Regions from separate parts of the Homo sapiens genome. Here regions 1, 2 and 4 are each linked to region 3. The links are contacts of gene promoters, found by promoter capture Hi-C in blood cells and fetal thymus (Javierre and others, 2016). All regions are on one chromosome and are shown on one strand. The core of a region is centred on a gene start or on the middle of the fragment in contact, and the rest is flanking DNA. Distances in the headings are between cores, read along the strand shown.

Region 1 (2,707 bases), core at 48-2,547, 210 kb before region 3:
CCTGAGCTCAAGCAATCCTCCTGCCTCAGCCTCCAAAAGTGCTGGGATTACAGGCATGAGCCACTGAACCAGGCCCCGAATCAGCATATCTGAAGGTCAGGAACTAGGAATCCTTACTTAACGAACCTCCCAGATGACTGTGGCACTCTGAAGTATGAGAGCCACTGCTCTGCGCAGTCTTATTCCATACTGTTTTGCTCCAGCCATACCAAACTACTTGATCTAGGCAATTACTTCATATCCTTATTCCACCCTGTGCATAACTCTGGTTCATATTTGTTACTGCGCTATAGTATGATTGTGGATTTATTTTTCTCCACTAGATTCTTTCCTCTTTGAAAACAGATACTGTGTTTTATTTTATTTTACATTCCTGGCACCTGGCATAGTTCTTGAAAGCATGTAGTAAGTACTCAAAAATATTTGTTAAAGAAGTAAAAAAGCAGTTTGTTCCTTGAAACTATTCTGTATGCTGCAATAATGGTGGATGCATGTAATTATACATATGTCAAAACCCAAAGAATGGGTGGGGCCTCAGTAGCTCATGTCTATAATCCTACCATTTTGGGAGGCTGAAGAGGGAGGATTGCTTCAACCCTGGAGTTCCAGACCAGTCTGGGCAACATAGGGAGACCCCGTCTCTACAAAAAATGTAAAAATTAGTGGGACATGGTAGTGTATGCCTATAATCCCAGCTGCTTCTGAGGCTGAGGCAGGATGATCGCTTGAGCCCAGGAGGTGAGGTTGCAGGAAGCTGTGATTGTGCCAGTGCACTCCAGCCTGGGTGGCAGAGCGAGACCCTGTCACAGAAAACAAACCCGTAGGCTATACACAAGCAAGAGTGAACCTTGATGTAAAATCCGGACTTTGGGTAACAATGATGTGTCGATATAGGTTTGTTGATTGTAACAAATGTGCCACTTTGGTGTAGGGGATGTTGATAATGGGAGAGGCTATGCATGTGTCAGGGGTAGGGTGTATATGAGAAATCTCTGTACCTTCCACTCGGTTTTGCTGTGAAACTAAAATTGCTCTAAAAAATACATTCAAAACAAAAGCAGCTTGTTAAAATTGCTCTAAAAAATACATTCAAAATAAAAACTAAAATTGCTCTAAAAAATAAATTCAAAACAAAAGCAGCTTGTTAGGAAGTTATTAGGGTGTTTCCTCTCTAAATATGAAATTTTTAGAAATGTTCCCACATTTTTAAATTTGGTATTCTTCAATGTCTGTGACCAAACATTTTTCTAGGGAAATGCATATCTAGTTTTAACAGAAATTTAGTTTACATCAAACTTTTCCAGATTTATTTTGTTAAACTGACTTTTTATCCAAGTGTACGGTGGATTTAATGAAAGTAAGTTTTCACTCATTGATTCCTTCATTAATGACAGCTATTATTTTTAATTAAGTTACAAATAACCTTAATAAATCATCTTTTTGTTTCCTTTTCAGTGTGCTCATGGATAACATGAAACACCTATTAGAGCTAAATAAATTAATAATGAAATCACAGCAGGTAAACTTACACATTAGGCTGATTATGCATTCTCATGATTTTACTCTCAACTTCTTGCTGGTAACTGTATTGTATATGATTAAATAGATTGTCCAAAGGGAATGCTATGATTGGAATTCGCTGTCCTTGAGTTCTCTCTTTTTTTCAAAATTCTATTATTTCTGACTAATGTTGAACATTATCTACTTATAATTTAAGTTACTGTCTTCCTTTTGCTGTCTGGAAATAGAGGAATTGAAAACTGGAACTTTAGATAACTAAGGCTAGTAGATAAACTCAGTGATTTAAGTATTACAGGTTTGTCCTTACATACAGTAATGTGCTTTAACTTTTTTATTTTTAATAACAGGAATCTTGGGATTTAGAGGAAAAACTGCTTGATATTAGAAAGAAGAGATTGCGTATGTAGAACACTTTTTTTTTGGCAGAACACATTTTGCTTACTTTATAGATTGATAAGGCCAGATCTCTTAGCCACTGAGAAATTTCCTAATTTCCGACTTCCAAAATTCCTTAAAATTTTTGACATGGCAACTTAAAAAGTGATATAAAGTACATTTTGTTCTGTTTATTCTCATTGTTTTAGAACTTTATTTTCGTTTTTTGTTTGCTTTTTCTGAGACAGTCTTGCTCTATCACCCAGGTGGAATGCAGTGACTTGATCTTGGCTCACTGCAACCTCTGCCTCCCAAATTCAAGTGATTCTCCTGCATCAGCCTCCTGAATAGCTGGAACTACAGGCACCCACCACCATGCCTGGCTAATTTTTGTATTTTTATGTTAAAAAAAATTTTTTAATATGGTATTTTTTTTTGGAGACAGAATCTCACTCTGTCGCCCATGCTGGAGTGCAGTGGCACGATCTCGGCTCACTGCATCCTCCGCCTCCTGGGTTTGAGCAATTCTTGTGCCTCAGCCTCCAGAGTAGCTGAGATTACAGGCATGTCCTATCACACCTGGCTAGTTTTCGTATTTTTTTAGTAGAGATGGGATTTCACCATGTTGGCCAGGCTGGTCTTGAACTCCCGACCTCAGATGATCCACCTGCCTCGGCCTCTCAAAGTGCTGGTTATAGGCATGAGCCACTGCACCTGGCCAAATTGTTGTATTTTTAGTAGGGACGGGATTTCACCTTGTTGGTCAGGCTGGTCTCAAACTCCTGACCTCAAGTGATCCGTCTGCCTTGGC
Region 2 (2,797 bases), core at 80-2,579, 160 kb before region 3:
AAGTAGCCTAATTTGAAGTTACGTATTTATTTTTAATCAGGGTACCCTTAGTTATTTGGTCCACATTGAACCTTGAAAAGGTAAAATAGATTTTTCTTAATTTTATTATTTGAATGTGTAGTTCAGAAACTTAAGGGACAAGGGTAGGTATTTGATTCTCTCTTATATTGTTAATTTTATCTTTCTGATCATGATTCCTACTCTCTTTTTGCCTAGTAGGTACATATTGGTTGCTAATTGTTTTTTTTTCTGTGGCGAAGTATTTGAAGTATTTACACATTATTCATTGATTCTAAATAATTTAACACATTTTTAATATATTTGGGTTTTTTTCCGTTTCTACCAGATCAAACTTGGACATAGATCAGAAGCTAAAGATGGTAAGTATTTCATGTAATCTGACAGATAGGAAAAGTTTTCTCCTTTTTTTTTTTTTTTTTTTTTTTTTTTTTTAAAAAGACAGGGTCTTGCTCTGTCACCCAGGCTGGAGTACTGAGACACAATCGTAGCTCACTGCAGCCTCAAACTTAGGTACTCAAGCAGTTCTCCCACCTCAGCCTCTTGAGTAGCTAGGGCTGTAAACATGTGCCACCACTTGTGGTTAATGTTTTATTTTTTGTAGAGATGAGGTCTGGCTGTGTTGCTCAGGCTTCTCTCAAACTCCTGGCCTCAAGCTATCCTCCCACCTCGGCCTCCCAAAGTGCTGGGATTACAGGCTTGAGCCACCATGCCCAGCATAAAGTTTTCATTCTCACTGAAGAAACGAGCAAAGTATGAATTAATAAGTTAGTAATGGTTCTGGATAGAGTTACTGCAGGGTCCCCGAAGAGTAAAGATAGACTCAGCATAGAGAAGGAGTATTTGGTGATTTTTACTTACTGGATATTCAGAGAAACATTCCAAATCACCCACATAAATGGAAGGCAGCAAGCTTAATTAGTTTGTCTTTCTGTCTTCATTACTGTTTTAGGTGTTACAAGCCATTGTTTTTTCTGTTTCTGAGTTTCTAATTACTTTGAAAATTCAGGATACATTTTCATGAAAGTACATAAAGCTTACTATGGAATAGATACATGAGGAAATTATTTCATTAAACTTTCTTCCAAAGTCTTATTTATTAGGATTCATCATAAAATAGCTCTTACAAAAGAGACCCATTGTCTGTGTAAGTGCCAATACTATATCTTATTTTTATTTTGTTTATTTTTTTTGAGACAGAGTCATGCTCTGTTGCCCAGGCTGGAGTGCAGTATCGCAATCTCGGCTCACTGCAACCTCTACCTCCCGGGTTCAAGCGATTCTCCTGCCTCAGCTTCCTGAGTAGCTAGGATTACAGGTGCACACCACCATGCCCAGCCAATTTTTTGTATTTTTAGTAGAGATGGGGTTTTGCCACCTTGGCCAGGCTGGTCTCGATCTCCTGGCCTCAAGTGATCTGCCCACCTAGGCCTCCCAAAGTGCTGGGATTACGAGCCACCGCGCCCGGCCTGTATCTAATTTTTAATTTTGAAATCTGTCATTTGTATTGGAAAATATACTATCTTATCACTAGTTTGCTTTTAGCACAAACAATATGCCACTAATATTTGTAGGGCAAGAGTAGGGAAGCTTATCACCTATATGCTGCACACTTATATATGTTGTTAGTCTAGTAGTGGTGTTCAGATCCTGGTATAGATAAGGTGAAATATTTTTCACCATTTGTCGTAGTCTTTGTTAAGCTATTTTAAAAGTAAAGCAATATTGGCCTGGTGCCATGGCTTACGCCTGTAATCCCAGCACTTTGGGAGGGTGAGGTGGGTAGATCGCCTGAGCTCAGGAGTTCGAAACCAGCCTGGCCAATATGGCAAAACCCCATCTCTAACGAAAATACAAAAAATTAGCCAGGCGTGGAGGTGCACACCTGTGGTCCCAGCTACTCGGGAGGCTGAGGTGGGAAAATTACTTGAGTCTGGGAGGTGGAGGCTGCTGTGAGCCGAGATCATGCCACTGCACTCCAACCTGGCTGACAGGGTGAAACCCCATCTCAAAAAAAATAAATAAATAAAAATAAAGCAATGTAAAAGAACAACAGATTTGACATAAAAATTGTCAAAGTAGCCCTTATTTTTGTGGGTAATGTTCACTATTTTCTGAGATTACTAACCTTTCTTTAAAAATATGTGTTTGTGGCTGGGTGTGGTGGCTCACGCCTGTAATCCCAGCACTTCAGGAGGCCAAAGCGGGTGGATCACGAGGTCAGGAGTTGGAGACCAGCCTGATGAACATGGTGAAACCCCGCCTTTACTAAAAATACAAAAATTAGCCGGGCGTGGTGGCGCGTGCCTGTAATCCCTGCTACTCTGGAGGCTGAGGCAGGAGAATTGCTTGAACCCGGGAAGCAGAGGTTGCAGTGAGCCGAGATCACGCCACTACACTCTAGCCTGGGCGACAGAGCGAGACTCCATCTCAAAAAAAAAAAAAAAAAAGAAGTGTTTGTAAGGTTTGAGATTTCAGAATTATTCACTTTTTGCTTTGCCTTTTTATATAGGTATAAATAGAACCGCCTTAAGAGAGATAAAATTATTACAGGAGCTAAGTCATCCAAATATAATTGGTGTGAGTATGATCAAAACTGTTACTGGGATTTGGGACTCTGCCTTTTCTTAATATAATGGATGTTGATTAAAGGCTCAGCAAGATGACTTGTTCTGGATGAGCCTTGTAGAAGCTTAAAGGAAATACATTTTCTATCCCAGTTGTTTTGGTAGGCATTGTCTTCAAAACTATACCACTGATTAAATAAATGAAATATTGA
Region 3 (2,922 bases), core at 287-2,786:
GCTGGAGTTCAGTGGCACGAGCTTGGCTCACTGCAGCTTCTGCCTCCTGGGTTCAAACAATTCTCCTGCCTCAGCCTCCTGAGTAGCTGGGATTACAGATGCGTGCCACCACGCCTGGCTAATTTTTCTATTTTCAATAGAGATGGGTTTTTGCCATGTTGGCCAGGCTGGTCTTGAACTCCTGGCCTCAAGTGATCTGCCTGCCTTGGCCTCCCACAGTGCAGATAGTACAGGCATGAGCCATCGTGTTCAGCTCCTTTTTGTATTTTAAGTTGTAGGAACTTATTCAGTTTGTCATTTACCTTGTAGTTTTGTTTTTATAGTTAAAGGGACTAGCTAAACAGCACAATGTAGGTAAATGAAAGATGGCTTCATAATCATCACACTCATGGTGTAATTTAAAAATCTTCTCCTTTGGTTCTTATTAATGCCTGCACTGTGAATCTGACAGATTGAAAATGGAAGCCCTGACTGACAGGGAACATGGAATGATAGACCCTGACAGCGGAGATGAAGCCCAGCTTAATGGAGGACATTCTGCAGAGGAATCTCTGGGTGAACCCACTCAAGCCACTGTGCCGGAAACCTGGTCTCTTCCTTTGAGTCAGAATAGTGCCAGTGAACTGCCTGCTAGCCAGCCCCAGCCCTTTTCAGCCCAAGGAGACATGGAAGAAAACATAATAATAGAAGACTACGAGAGTGATGGGACATAGAAGCCAGCCTGCTAATCAGATTGCTACTTCACAGCTTCATTTTTGTTTCATTCAGTGGTACTTCAGCAGAGTTAATATGCTTTTCTGATGAATTACACAACAGTTTGTTAATTCTTCATTCTTGTAGTATTTCATCACAAGAAACCTACTCTTCTGTCATCTTGAAGTAAATAGAAGATCAAGCCTTCAAATCTCTTAATTTTTTCGGTATTTATTAAATCTGTGAGTGGTTTAAGGAGCGGTCAGTGTGTATAAAGTGTGTTTGAACATTATGCCAAATATCAAGATGTGAAGGACTAATTCAGGATGCAAAAACGTTATTGGGGGGTTGTAAATATCAACTATTCAACAGTTTAGGATGCAATTACGAGTGTAAACTGTGTGCCTTATTTACACTTTATTGTCTCCCGCTTCTCAGATAGTTTTGATGTGTTGTACAGTGGAATATCTTAGATACTTTTTGGAAAGTATTTACATAAGTTATATCACAATTAAAATGTTGAATTTAATTTTGTTTCTCCTGTCTTTTAACATTATCTAGCACGCACTCGCTGCCATGGGTCCTTAAGCACAGTGCACCAATCTCCCTCCCCCAGTGTCAAACTTTTCAAAAGATAGGGAAGAGGATGGCAACGTTGCGATGAGAACTGTAAACTCTTTCCAAAAGAGCCCAGTGTGTGGTCATTGCCGCGACGTGCCGGCTGGTGGCACCGAGCAGCCTGGGCCCAGAGCGGTTGTCGGGCCGACAGATCCGGGCGGGGCAAAGCCGGGCGGGGAAAGCTGGGCTCGTCCCGTCCCGGCCCCGCCCCCACCCCGGGAGCCCGATACCGGTTTCAGAGTCCTGGGCAGCGTGCGCGCTCTTCCTGGCGGCTGCGCAGGTAAGTGGGACCGGGGTGGGGCCACGTGACCGGGAGAGGAGGGCCCGGCGGCCCCCGGCCCAGGTGTGCTGCGACGGACGGCTGCCCGCGCTCGGCGCTCAGCCTGCCATAGCCCGCGGGGGAGGCCGGAGCCAGGGATCCGGGGAGGCCCGCGTCCCGCCAGGTTTCGCTCTGCGGACGCAGGTGCGGCCGAGCCGCCGTCCTTCCGGGCGCGGGGCGGGGCGCGCACCTCGGGGCGATCTCGGTGCTCCTTACCTGGGAGGTCTCCCGGCTTAGTTTCGGCCTCGTTGGGTCGGAATCTCCAAAGACAGTGGGTTTCAGCCAGAAACGCGAAGACGAACGCCTAGCCGGCGCGGGCAGAACCGAGGACACAATGAGATTTGTGGGACCGGGCGCCCAGAGGCTGGCGCGGGGGAGACCCCACAGCTAAAATGCTCGGTACCCCCGGGCAGTCGTGGGTTAGTTAGAACCGCAGAGCCTTTCCCGACCCCTCGGAAGCGCAGAAGTATCCGAAATCTACCCGTTTCTTGGGTCCAGCAAAACTTTTAAGCCAGGTAAACCGGTGGTTCTGTTTGTGTAAAGGTGACCAGGCATGATTCCTGTGACACTTTGCTGGGGCAGCCATTTCTCCTGCCATTGCCGCGGCTTTCCAAGATGAGTGTCCAAGAGTGGAGTAAGGGTCCGGGGCCTGAGCAGGACAAAGACACACGCTGCCGCGACCTGCGGGACCAGAACGAACTCTCAGTGACATCTTGAAAGACATTAGGGGTATCCAGATATTTAAGATGTAATGAAATACAGCTAACCATTCCCTTCTAAAAATCACATTATCTTGCTTTTCCACAACTCTTTAATAATTGCTTGTTTTTTCTTTAAAAATGGATAGGGTGGTTTGATTCAAATAAGCCACTTCACAGGTGAAGAGTTAAATCCATTACAGTGAATCGTATTTTTACCAGTGAGTTGAATTAAGCATAGCGTATCCTGTAAATGCTGTGTAAAACTTGCTAAAATCATTTGTTGTGCTTTTGCTTCTACATTTCTTAGGAATGTGTTTCAAAAACTAGAGTCGTAATAGCATTTCTAGAACTTACACTTTTTTAGAGAAAGAAAGAGAAAGGTACAAAAATAACTGATTGTTATAATATACAGAGCCGCTTTGCATTGGGCACCCTGCTGGGGCCATCACAGTTAATCCTCTAAGGTCGGAGTGCCCTATTAGAAGACCCTGGGTTTCCACCGCATTCCCTTGTCTCCAGTCTGTACATACCCTGTGTGCCTTGCTTGCCCTCTTAACGTCTCTACCTGGATTTTTAACGCATCTGAAACAC
Region 4 (2,700 bases), core at 179-2,678, 130 kb before region 3:
GTCTTTAAAATATGATACTTGATGGCAAAGAATGGGATCTTTTAAGAGTTCTATAGTTTGGATCTATTTGAGAGTGCTGGATTGAACAAATGCAGCCCACAGAATTTAAAATGCAGACACTTGAATGTATAGGATCACCCAAAACAGAGAATTCTGAAGTCTTACGCCAGGGGTTGTTGAAAGGGAAATTCTCTTTTATAGGATTTTTTTCTTTATTCTCGTTTGAAGCAGTGTCTTTGTCTTCCAATGCCCGAGCAAGCATGTAGCTAACTTTTCTTTGATGAGCCAAAGCTTCTTCTTTATCATTAAGCTGCATGCACAGAAATTAAACATGTACAAGTTAGTCAATAAATCACAGAATATATTCAGAGAAAGGAGTATTGTACTATTTTATCAAGTTATTCAACCCTAATATTCATACTGATCTGTCCATCAGTATGAATAAATTAGGTATCACCTGATCCCCAAACATTATACTACATGTTATTCATGAATCTTTTTTTTTTTTTTTTTGAGACGGAGTCTGGCTCTGTCACCCAGGCTGGAGTGCAGTGGCACTATCTCCACTCACTGCAAGCTCTGCCTCCCAGGTTCACACTATTCTCCTGCCTCAGCCTCCCAAGTAGCTGGGACCACAGGTGCCCGCCACCACACCCAGCTAATTTTTTGCATTTTTTAGTAGAGACGGGGTTTCACTGTGTTTGCCAGGATGGTCTGAATCTCCTGACCTTGTGATCAGCCCACCTTGGCCTCCCAAAGTGCTGGGATTACAGGCGTGAGCCACCGTGCCCGGCCAATTCTTTTTTTTTTTAAGACAGGGTCTGGCTCTGTTGCCCAGGCTGGAATGCAGTGATGCCATCTTGGCTCACTGCAGCCTCTGCCTCCCAGGCTCAAGTGATTCTTGGGCCTCACCCTCCCGAGTAGAGTAGCTGGGACTATAGGCGTGCACCACCACACCTTGCTAATTTTTGTAGGCTGGTCTCGAACTCCTGGCCTCAAGTGATCCACTCGCCTCGGCCTCCCAAAGTGCTGGAATTACAGATGTGTGCCACCATGCCAGGCTGACAATTTTTTTTTTTTTTTGAGACAGAGTCTCGCTCTGTCACCCAGGTTGGAGTGCAGTTGCATGATCTTGGCTCACTGCAAGCTCCGCTCTCCTGGGTTCACACCATTCTCCTGTCTCAGCCTCCCATGTAGCTAGGGACTACAGGTGCCAGCCACCACACCTGGCTAATTTTTTGTATTTTTAGTAGAGACAGTTTCACCGTGTTAGTCAGGATGGTCTCGATCTCCTGACCTCATGATCCACCCGCCTCGGCTTCCCAAAGTGCTGGGATTACAGGCATGAGCCACTGTGCCCAGCCCCGACGATTATTTTTTAAAAATAATTTTTTAAAAAAAAAAACAGAAGACAGCATTGAAAATTTTGCAAGTCATCTGGAAATGAAGGGAAAATATAGATCTATATGAAGTGTGTATATATAGGTATATAATATCAACATATAAAAAATATATCAACGTGCATATTTATAAAATAATGTTGAAGTTATTTGTATATAAAATTGCTTTCATATATTTGTATGCAAATATATAACAGTCTAGAGATAAGTATGTTCATATAACCTGAGTCTCAGTGTCTTAGTTTAGTCATTCCATGTGGAATGTGGGTAGCAGGACTGTAAAGGATATAATGTGTGAGGAAATGCCTTGAACACTTTAAAAATGCCTCAATAAACAGGCAGACTTGTCACAAACTGTATATATATAAATGTAGATGGCAAAGCTGGCTGGAGTTAACTACAGGAGCCCCCTGTTTTCCAAGATGGAGCCTTTAAACCTGCACAGAAAGAATATGAATGACGAGAAAAGATGAGCTGAGGGAGATAAAGATCATGAAGGTAGAGTCTGGTACTCCAACTGGGAAAAGGACATAGAAGGCAAGTGCAAGTCTAGAGAGATAAAGAGTTGAATTAACAGGAAGCAAATAGATTAGCTTAACCTAGGGGTGTCCAATCTTTTGGCTTCCCTGGGCCACACTGGAAGAAGAAGAATTGTCTTGGGCCACACATAAAATACACTAACACTGGCTGGGCATGGTGGGTCACGCCTGTAATCCCAGCACTTTGGGATGCCGAGGTGGGCAGATCACTTGAGGTCAGGAGTTTGAGACCAGCCTGGCCAACATGGTGAAATCCTGTCTCTACTAAAAACGCACACACAAAATTAGCCAGGCGTGGTGGTGGGCGCCTGCAGTCCCAGCTACTCTAGAGGCTGAGGCAGGAGAATTGCTTGAACCCGGGAGGTGGAGGTTGCAGTGAGCCGAGATCGCGCCGCTGCACTCCAGCCTGGGTGACAGAGACTCTGTCTCAAAAACCAAACAAACAAAAAAACCAAAAAACAAACAAAACAAAAAAATACACTAACACTAATGATAGCTGATGAACTAAAAAAATATATATATATATCAAAAAGATCTCATAATGTTTTAAGAAAGTTTACGAATTTGTGTTGGGCCACATTCAAAGCTGTTCTGGGCTGCATGCTCCCCACGGACCGTGGGTTGGACAAGCTTGGCTTAACCATAACCTGCAAAAAAAAGCAAAGACACTAACCAAATCTATGAGCATCTTAAGGACCTCTTGAGGACTGTCCTGGTCTTCCATCCTCTTAGAACTGTTTTCTGAAGGGAGCATACCCAAC

Evidence for each region. The method cuts DNA at HindIII sites, captures the fragments that hold promoters and counts their contacts. A CHiCAGO score of 5 or more calls a contact.
Region 1: a fragment that was not itself captured here is called in contact with the fragment with the promoter of MARVELD2 in region 3 in 2 of 17 cell types (neutrophils and erythroblasts); the score reaches 8.4 in neutrophils.
Region 2: a fragment that was not itself captured here is called in contact with the fragment with the promoter of MARVELD2 in region 3 in 8 of 17 cell types (erythroblasts, neutrophils, total B cells and 5 more); the score reaches 7.6 in erythroblasts.
Region 4: a contact is called between a fragment that was not itself captured here and the fragment with the promoter of MARVELD2 in region 3, in 1 of 17 cell types (neutrophils). The highest score is 7.3, in neutrophils.

The regions. Positions count from the first base shown.
Region 1 is chr5:69,201,051-69,203,757 of GRCh38, forward strand. CENPH (centromere protein H) reads left to right here. Exons shown (of 9, transcript NM_022909.4): 6 at 1,456-1,519; 7 at 1,869-1,920. Among named protein-coding and RNA genes, the nearest start is that of CENPH, 13 kb to the left of the region's middle. The HindIII fragment of the contact is 3,881 bases long and covers 1-2,707 here.
Region 2 is chr5:69,252,072-69,254,868 of GRCh38, forward strand. It overlaps CDK7 (cyclin dependent kinase 7), which reads left to right. Exons shown (of 12, transcript NM_001799.4): 3 at 347-380; 4 at 2,531-2,598. Among named protein-coding and RNA genes, the nearest start is that of CDK7, 19 kb to the left of the region's middle. The HindIII fragment of the contact is 554 bases long and covers 1,053-1,606 here.
Region 3 is chr5:69,413,580-69,416,501 of GRCh38, forward strand. It overlaps MARVELD2 (MARVEL domain containing 2), which reads left to right and starts at 1,537. Exons shown (of 7, transcript NM_001038603.3): 1 at 1,537-1,591. RAD17 (RAD17 checkpoint clamp loader component) reads left to right here. Exons shown (of 19, transcript NM_133338.3): 19 at 452-1,222. The coding sequence ends at 713. RefSeq lists enhancers at 1,314-2,197, 2,198-2,922. The HindIII fragment of the contact is 19,290 bases long and covers 1-2,922 here.
Region 4 is chr5:69,282,725-69,285,424 of GRCh38, forward strand. CCDC125 (coiled-coil domain containing 125) reads right to left here. Exons shown (of 12, transcript NM_176816.5): 11 at 2,613-2,700; 12 at 1-310. The coding sequence ends at 5. Among named protein-coding and RNA genes, the nearest start is that of CCDC125, 49 kb to the right of the region's middle. The HindIII fragment of the contact is 2,278 bases long and covers 290-2,567 here.